2 separate regions of the Homo sapiens genome follow, and region 1 is linked to region 2. The links are contacts of gene promoters, found by promoter capture Hi-C in blood cells and fetal thymus (Javierre and others, 2016). All regions are on one chromosome and are shown on one strand. Each heading gives the region's core, a stretch centred on a gene start or on the middle of the fragment in contact. The rest is flanking DNA. Distances are from core to core; before and after follow the strand shown.

Region 1 (3,540 bases), core at 518-3,017, 480 kb before region 2:
TCCCAGTTACTTGGGAGGCTGAGACAGGAGGATCTCTTGAACCCAAGAGGCAGAAGTTTCAGTGAGCCAAGATCACACCATTGCCCTCCAGCCTGGGCAACAGAGCAAGACTCCATCTCAAAAAAAAAAAAAAAAAAGAATAAAAGAAAGAATTGGATGACAGTTTGCAAGAGGCTCCAAAGGAGATCAGGGAAGGGCTGCACATCAGGTCTTAATGCTGGCATGGGGAGAGGGGGCACAGAGCCCCTGAGTGACTGGCCTGCTTCCACACTGAGACCCAAAACCTTGTGTGCTTGAGGACAATGCAGTTCGAATCACGCCACCGGAATTTTCTGTATTTGCTTCTGGACTTGAACATTTGGACAATGTCTACAATTGCATTCTTTGTAATGCTTTTGTGTTGAAATATCGTTTTGAGATACCCTCAAATCATCCACATATTGTCTTTAAAAATGGTGAAAGGTATTTCCATATGGTTTATGTGATCTGTTAATTCATAAAAGTGTTGAGTGGAATTTATCACATACGGTTAATGCTTTGTGCTGCTTCTGTTTCTAGAGCCTGAAATCTGGCTGTTACTTCACTCTCTGTAGGGGTCTGGGGACATGAATTAAGATGCCCTTCTCTATGGAGTGCCTTGTTTGGGAGAGTTTGAACGAAGCACAATAGTTGGTTTTGCTCTCAAGATACCCACAGGTTGGTGTGACCGGCTGGTTGGTGTGTACATTAGTGAAATGTCATGGAGTGGCAGATATGTGTCCAAGAATATAACATGAAGTGTATAGTTACAGCTCAAAGTGCTGAGGAGGAAGGGCAGGGAGGACCAGGTGAGGCAAGCCCAACACAGACGTCTTGAGGGGCAGTGAGACGTTTTGGAGGGTGAGTCGTGTTGGAGCTCCAGGATGGGACAGCTGGGGGTGTTGGATGGCAGGAAGGAGCTCCCAGGACTCAGACAGTCCCCTACTGTCTGAATGCCAGCTCCAAGATCAGTCAGGGACTTTTATCTGTTTTATATACAGCTGATTTCCCAATGCTTGGCACAGAGTAGATGCTCAATAAACAATTGCTGAATGAATGAATGAACGAATGAATGAATGAATGAACGAACAGGCAGGGGAAATGGCAAAAGCCAGCAAAGGCTAGGAGACCAAAGGGCCAGCTTGGGCTGGGGAGGAAGGCGGTGTTAAGAAAATGCCTGTGAAGCTTTGAGAAGGTTGTTAACCTGTAGGAAAGCGGGCCAGATATCTGAGGTGCCATGGGGATACAAAGGAACCCAGGACTCAGGCGTTGCCCTCCAGAAACACAAGTGGTAACTGATGGAGGAGGGCCCTGACCTGCAGGCTGGGGCAGGGGGTAGGGGTAGGAGGTGGGGACTCGGGCAGGGGAGGGGGCTACCACACACCTGAAAGCTGGCGGGTACATCCTCAGCGTCTCTGCAATCACCATGTCCAGATAGGGCAGGCCTTCCTCGAGGCTGCAGAACTCAGGGGCCATCTGATGGAGGGGTCGTGACAAAGGGAGAAGTTCGTGTTAGCCCAAATCTCACAGCATTTTGTCTTTTCCTTAAATTTCAATCTCGTTTCCAACTTTGGCAAACATTTAAACAGAAACCCCACAAAATGGAAAGTCGGTATGACCCAAATTGCATCTGATTGGCGCTCAGTGGTTCTATTGTGCTTATATTTCACGGTGCTAGCCTGGGGCTCAGGGGTCTTCGTAATACAGAGAAGTTTGGTTATAAAACTGCAGCGGCAACCACAGCCGCCAGCATTTATTGGGAGCTGACGATGTGGCCGACCAAGTGCAGCATAGACGTTACCGCATTTGATGCTCCACTAAGCCAGTGTGGTGACTGTTTCCCCATCTCTTAGATGAGAAAACTGAGGCTCAAAGAGCCTGTCACATGGGTAGTCATGGCACATTATGAAGTCAAAAGGCAAATAGTGAAATAGCAAATAAAAAAGTTTGCCACATCTATAAAGGACTAACAGTAACAAAAACCAAAGAGCTACTATCAGTCAGTAGGAAAAGACAACTAGCTAGAAAAATGGTCAAAGGCTATGAACAGGCGAAACACAGAGGCCATATGAGTTACTATAATGAAAAATGCAAGTTCCAATGAGATTCCATTTGCACAGGTCAGATTAGGAACAGCTGGAAAATGCTGATTAGATTTCAGGGGGTGCAAATGTGGGGATCCTAACACCCCCGGGTGACTCTCCTGGAGTGACAGTCTGTCACTCCCTGGCTCCCCATCTTTGGCCTGAAGATGAACACGTGCCCATGAGCTCTTGAGCAGGGTGTGGGCGCACTGGGATTAAGGAAGCTTATTTGCTGCTCTGCCAGTTTGCCCACAGAGGTGGAATGAGTTATCTGGTTGGTAGGTGATGGTCTCACTTTCTTCACCTAGATAATGCTAATCCAGGAGGAGTCCCCAAGGTGGCGGATTGCTTTCTTCTGTTCCCTCTTTTTCCCAGAGCAGCAGGAGGCCGGCCTTCAGGGCAAGTCCATTCTCAAGCCGCCAACGTTCCAGTTACAGGCGCTGGGAGGCCTAGTTCCTCCGTCTGCAGGGGGAGCCCTTCACAGCCCTGGAGCAGCCACTGGCCACCCTGCCTGGGATCTCAGCCAGCTCTCAAAGTGAGCTCCGGGATGGGCAAGGGTCAGCAGCAGCAGCATCACCCGGGAACCTGTTAGAACTGCATCTCGGGTCAGAGGGGTGGAAGGGCAGGGGCCAGGACACATGGAGTCTTGAAGTCCATAGCCAGTATCGTAGCTAATCTATGATGACATAGCCATTCAACATATTGCAGCTGTTTAATGATGCCTATAAGCCACGTTGCAGAAATTATATGTAGTTTAATCCCATGTCTGTGACTGTTTATGAATTTAGAGGGCCAGGGTGGCATTCCTACTTTGTCATAAAAAATAACAAGGTTTGGATGGTTTTCCCAAAGCTCTCCCGTCTGCATTTCTGGGAACGGTTCTAACTTTAGAAGGTTATCACCCAACCCCACACTTCCCACTCCCATCACAGGCCACTGGGGCAGCTGGCTGAGCAAGTGACCAATGAAAAGGGCTCTGTGCGGGGGTTAATCCTCTGTGGCGCTGTCTTGAGAGTCTTCATAACTTTATCTTTTATTTATTTATTTTTTTTTTGAGACAGAGTCTTTTTCTGTCGCCCAAGCTGGAGTGCAGTGGTGTGATCTCGGCTCACTGCATCCTCCACCTCCCGGGTTCAAGTGATTCTCCTGCTTCAGCCTCTCAAATAGCTGGGATTACAGGCATCTGCCACCATGCCTGGCTAACTTTTGTATTTTTAGTAGAGATGGGGTTTCACCATGTTGGCCAGGTTGGTCTCCAACTTCTGACCTCAAGTGATCCGCCTGCCTCGGCCTTCCAAAGTGCTGGAGTTACAGGCGTGAGCCACTGCACCCGGACGTAACTTTATCTTTGAATCTGTGCTTTGGAAGCCTGGCTTATGCATGGCTCCACCTGTGGCTGCCTCCCACGACCAGCTCTCAGCTGCCTGTGCTCTCCACC
Region 2 (4,035 bases), core at 1,399-3,898:
CCAGGGCTCAGTTCCTACATGGGACAAACTAGCTCTGGCCACCTGGCCCAGAACACATCGTGCTCTGGGTCTGGGACACCTTTCCCTCTGTCTCCTCTCAGGCTCCTTTCCCAGGCTCCTCTCAGAAGAGAGGAGCTTGGGGGCACCCAAGAAGACCTTCAGAGAACTGGCAGAAGGGAGGCCCCTGGCCAGACTCAGACTCCAGATTCTAAAACTCCTGTGGGAAAAGTCAGTAGGCCCAAGATGCTGAGTACCCAAGGACCACAGGCCATCAGGAGTGGGACTGCTCCTGGGGAGACCAGGGGAAGGAAGGGGAGGGGACTGCAGGTGGCATGAGTCAGAGAGCAAGGCAAGGCAGGGGGCCATGGTGAGGCAAGGCTGGACCACAGGAAGATGCTAAGCATGGGAGTGGGCTTGACTCAGGGCCCCAGGCAGCCTCTGGGTGACCTTCCAGCTTGGTGTGTGGTCTGTTCTGCAGCCTGACTGGCAGGTGGGCAGCCCAGCCACAGTGGGGAGGAGGAAGCACAAGGGGGTGGAAGTCAGGGCAGGAGGTGGACAGGAACAGCAAGCAGGAGGCATTAAAGGGCCACAGCAGCCCAGAAGCAGCCCTACCATGGGGGCTGGGGTTAAGGTTAGGGCAGACCCTTCAGAAATGCTGACGAATAAATGAATGAAGAAATACAGGCAAGAGGAGGGAACAACTTCAAGAAATAGCTTTGGCAGGAGTGAAGCGTGGGAACACAGGGCCACTCCAACAGTAAAGCCGGAGACAGCGTCACGGGGGGGTGTCTGACCACCTCCATCCATTCCACACAACTCTTCACAACCCACAGCTCTGCTACAGCTCTTCTCCTTGGTGACGCAACATCTTCGCCTCCTCTGTCCCTGCCACTGTCTGGTGGTCCAGCTTCAGAGTCTGCACAGCCCTTCCTCGGACAGTGCACGTCCCCTGGCCCATAGCCTTTGTGCAGAAGGCTGGCATTACCATCCCCACCTCGCCATCCTCAGCAGCCCCATGACCTGCCTTGGCCCAGCTGCTGGTTATGTCCCTCCTGGTCCACTGCCCCACCCCCTCCCTGACCTCGAGCCTGGGTCCCACCCCTCTGGGCCACCACCAGTCTTCCAAGGGCAAGCCCACCATCTCCACCCCTCAGTAGCCCCTTCAGAACAAAGTCCAAGCTCCTGGGCAAGGCCTGGCTGGCCCTTCACCGTCTGGGTCCTTCAGGCCCGTCTCTCTCCACCCTGCCCCATCTCAGTACTCCAGGGCTCAGTTCCCACGTGGCACAGAGTAGCTCTGACCACCTGGCCTGGGATACGTCATGCTCTGGGTCTGGAACACCTTCCCCTCTGTCTCCACGCCTGCTAAGAGGTCACCTACTCCTGGGAAGCCCTCCTTTTCTGACACTGCCTCCCTAAGGATGGGTGATCCAGGCTCCAGGCTTCCCTAGTTAATGCTGCCCAGGTCCTCCTTGTCCTTGGATTCAGGGTGCCAGGAGCACCCTGAGAAGCACCCAAAGGGCCAGCCACCCTCTCACCAACTCCTGCATCTCCCACACCACACGCCGCCGGCGGTAGCTAATACAAGTTTCCTTAAAGAGCTCATGAACTTGAAATCAATTCTCTACTTGGGTTACTGCCCCGGAGGCAGGCCAGGGGTCCCTCCCTGAGGCAGTCTGATGGAGGAGTAGGTGTGACCCCTGACCTTGCAAGGAAGAGCCTCTCCTGGATTCTCCACCCCTGCCCTGCCCTGCCCTCCCCACATGCCCCACCACCACGGGGTCCCCGCGGCTCTCACAGGGGCGGGCACCACCTCTGGGGTCTCCAGCTTTCTTACTTTACTCGAAGCGTGTTCACGACCACAGATTCCGCCACCCTCTCAACACGCCTGTCTGGTGGGTGTCAGGCAGTGTTTGTCCCCTTCATGCGTGAGGAGACGAAGGCTCAGAGCGTGAAGCCCGCTCCAAGGTCAGAGAGGGAGTCGCAGCAGAGGCGGGGTCGAGGCTGTGACTCGCGGTGGCCCCCGGTTCCCTCCCACCCCACCCCACGAACCGGCGTCTGGCCGCCCTGAAATGAATGACTCCGCCGCGTCCCGGCGCCGCGCTCCCAGCGCTCCCCTCCGGGACAGCGGCCAAGGTGACTCTGACCGCCTCCGGGTCGCGGGTCGGGCCTGGGCAGGGGTCCCTGGGCCAGGAGAGGGAGGCCGCTCCGCGCTTACCCTCCAAGGCCGCCTTCCAGCTGGTGCTGCCCTCGTAGCCCGACCCGGATCGCCGCAGCAGCCCCTCGGGGCCGCGGGCCTCAGCCTCTGCGGGCGAACGCGGCCTGGGGGCGGCGGGGGCGGGCGCGGGGCGCGCGGCGAGGGGCGGCGGCGGCCGGGCCCGCGAGGGGGGCTCCCGGGCCGGCTCCATGCGGGGCGCTCCGCCGCGCCGCGCCCGCGCTCCTGCACCGGGGTGCGGGGCCCAGCCCGACGCGCACTCGGCGCTCCGCGCGCCCTGCGGGCCCCCCAGGCCGGCCTCGGGTGGGCTAGGACCGCGGCGCTGGCAGGCCGGGGCTGAGCCCGGCTCCCCGCGCTGGAGCCTCTGCGCCGGGTGCCGCCGCGGTGCGCTCAGCGCCTGCCCCGCCGAGCCGCAGCCTCCACGCACAGCCGGGCTGGGGAGGAGCGCGAGGCGGCGCGCGGGAGCCGGGAGCCGTGGACCCGGGCGGGGCGGGGCAGGGGCGGAGAGGGAGGAGGCGCGGAGGAGCGGGGACAGCCGGCTCCCCGACCCCGCCACCTGGGCTGGAGGCTGGATGCTGTCGAGCTGGGAGCGCAGTCTTGGAGCCGGGAGACCTGGTTCTAACTCAGCTCCATCTCCCCAGCCGCCTGCTCACCATCTGTGAAAATGGGAATAAAGTTCGCGGGGACAGTGCAGGGAGGCTCAGGGAAGATGAGCGCCTTTCTTCCCGGCTGCCCTGGAGCCACAGCAGAGGGTGGTAGGGGCTGTGACTTGACCCCCAAACTCTTGATAAAGGAGAGAAACGTCCGAACGATGAGCACAGAGACAGTAGAGTCTAAAGGAGCAAGCGAAGTGACGTTGCAGATTCAATTAACATTTATTGAGCACCTACTAAGCGCCAGGGACTTTCACATATTATTAGCTGACAATGCCCCCAGGTGAGGCTGAGAAGTGGAATTTTGAGGTCAAGGACATTTCCGAAGGCGGCGCCAGGCAGGTGCGTGCTTGGCGGGTGTCTGACTCCCAGGCCAGGGCTCCCTCCGGAGCCTTCACTGGCCCCTTGCCTCAGCTGACCTCGCGTCGCCTGAAGCCCCACGCCTCCAGCCCTGATCCTCTTCCCCCTCCACCATTCTCAGCCCCAACCTCTGGTTCCTGTCTCCATCTTCAGTTCCTCATCCCCAGCTCCTCCTGCTCCCTCCCCCAAATCCAATAGGCCACTGACTCTTGTGAATTCTCCCTTTTAAAATATTTTTATTTTTATTTTTTGAGACAGGGTCTCGTTCTGTAGCCCAGGCTGGAGTGCAGTGTCACTACAGCCTCGGCCTCCCAGGCTCAAGCGATCCTCCCACCTGGGTCTCCCAAAGTTCTAGGATTGCAGGCGTGAGCTGCCGTGCCCGGCCCCTTTTTTTTTTTTTTTTTTTTTTTGAGACGGAGTCTCGCTCTGTCGCCCAGGCTGGAGTGCAGTGGCGGGATCTCGGCTCACTGCAAGCTCCGCCTCCCGGGTTCACGCCATTCTCCTGCCTCAGCCTCCCAAGTAGCTGGGACTACAGGCGCCCGCCACTACGCCCGGCTAATTTTTTTGTATTTTTAGTAGAGACGGGGTTTCACCGTTTTAGCCGGGATGGTCTCGATCTCCTGACCTCGTGATCCGCCCGCCTCGGCCTCCCAAAGTGCTGGGATTACAGGCGTGAGCCACCGCGCCCGGCCGCCCGGCCCCTTTTAAACTCTTAGTCTGCGCATTGCACTCCATCCCTCTAGCCACTGGCCAAGTACAAGCCAATGCCTTCTCTTGCCCGACCACAGCAGCAGCCTTCTAAGGGGTCTC

The links. Contacts are between HindIII fragments. The CHiCAGO score rates a contact against its expected background, and 5 or more counts as called.
Region 1: a contact is called between a fragment that was not itself captured here and the fragment with the promoter of CLEC2L in region 2, in 5 of 17 cell types (endothelial precursors, naive CD4 T cells, naive B cells and 2 more). The highest score is 7.5, in endothelial precursors.

Annotation. Positions count from the first base shown.
Region 1 is chr7:140,005,045-140,008,584 of GRCh38, reverse strand. It overlaps TBXAS1 (thromboxane A synthase 1), which reads right to left. Exons shown (of 13, transcript NM_001061.7): 10 at 1,403-1,494. Among named protein-coding and RNA genes, the nearest start is that of PARP12, 56 kb to the left of the region's middle. The HindIII fragment of the contact is 1,123 bases long and covers 1,206-2,328 here.
Region 2 is chr7:139,522,298-139,526,332 of GRCh38, reverse strand. It overlaps CLEC2L (C-type lectin domain family 2 member L), which reads right to left and starts at 2,648. Exons shown (of 5, transcript NM_001080511.4): 1 at 2,216-2,648. The coding sequence starts at 2,405. The HindIII fragment of the contact is 20,495 bases long and covers 1-4,035 here.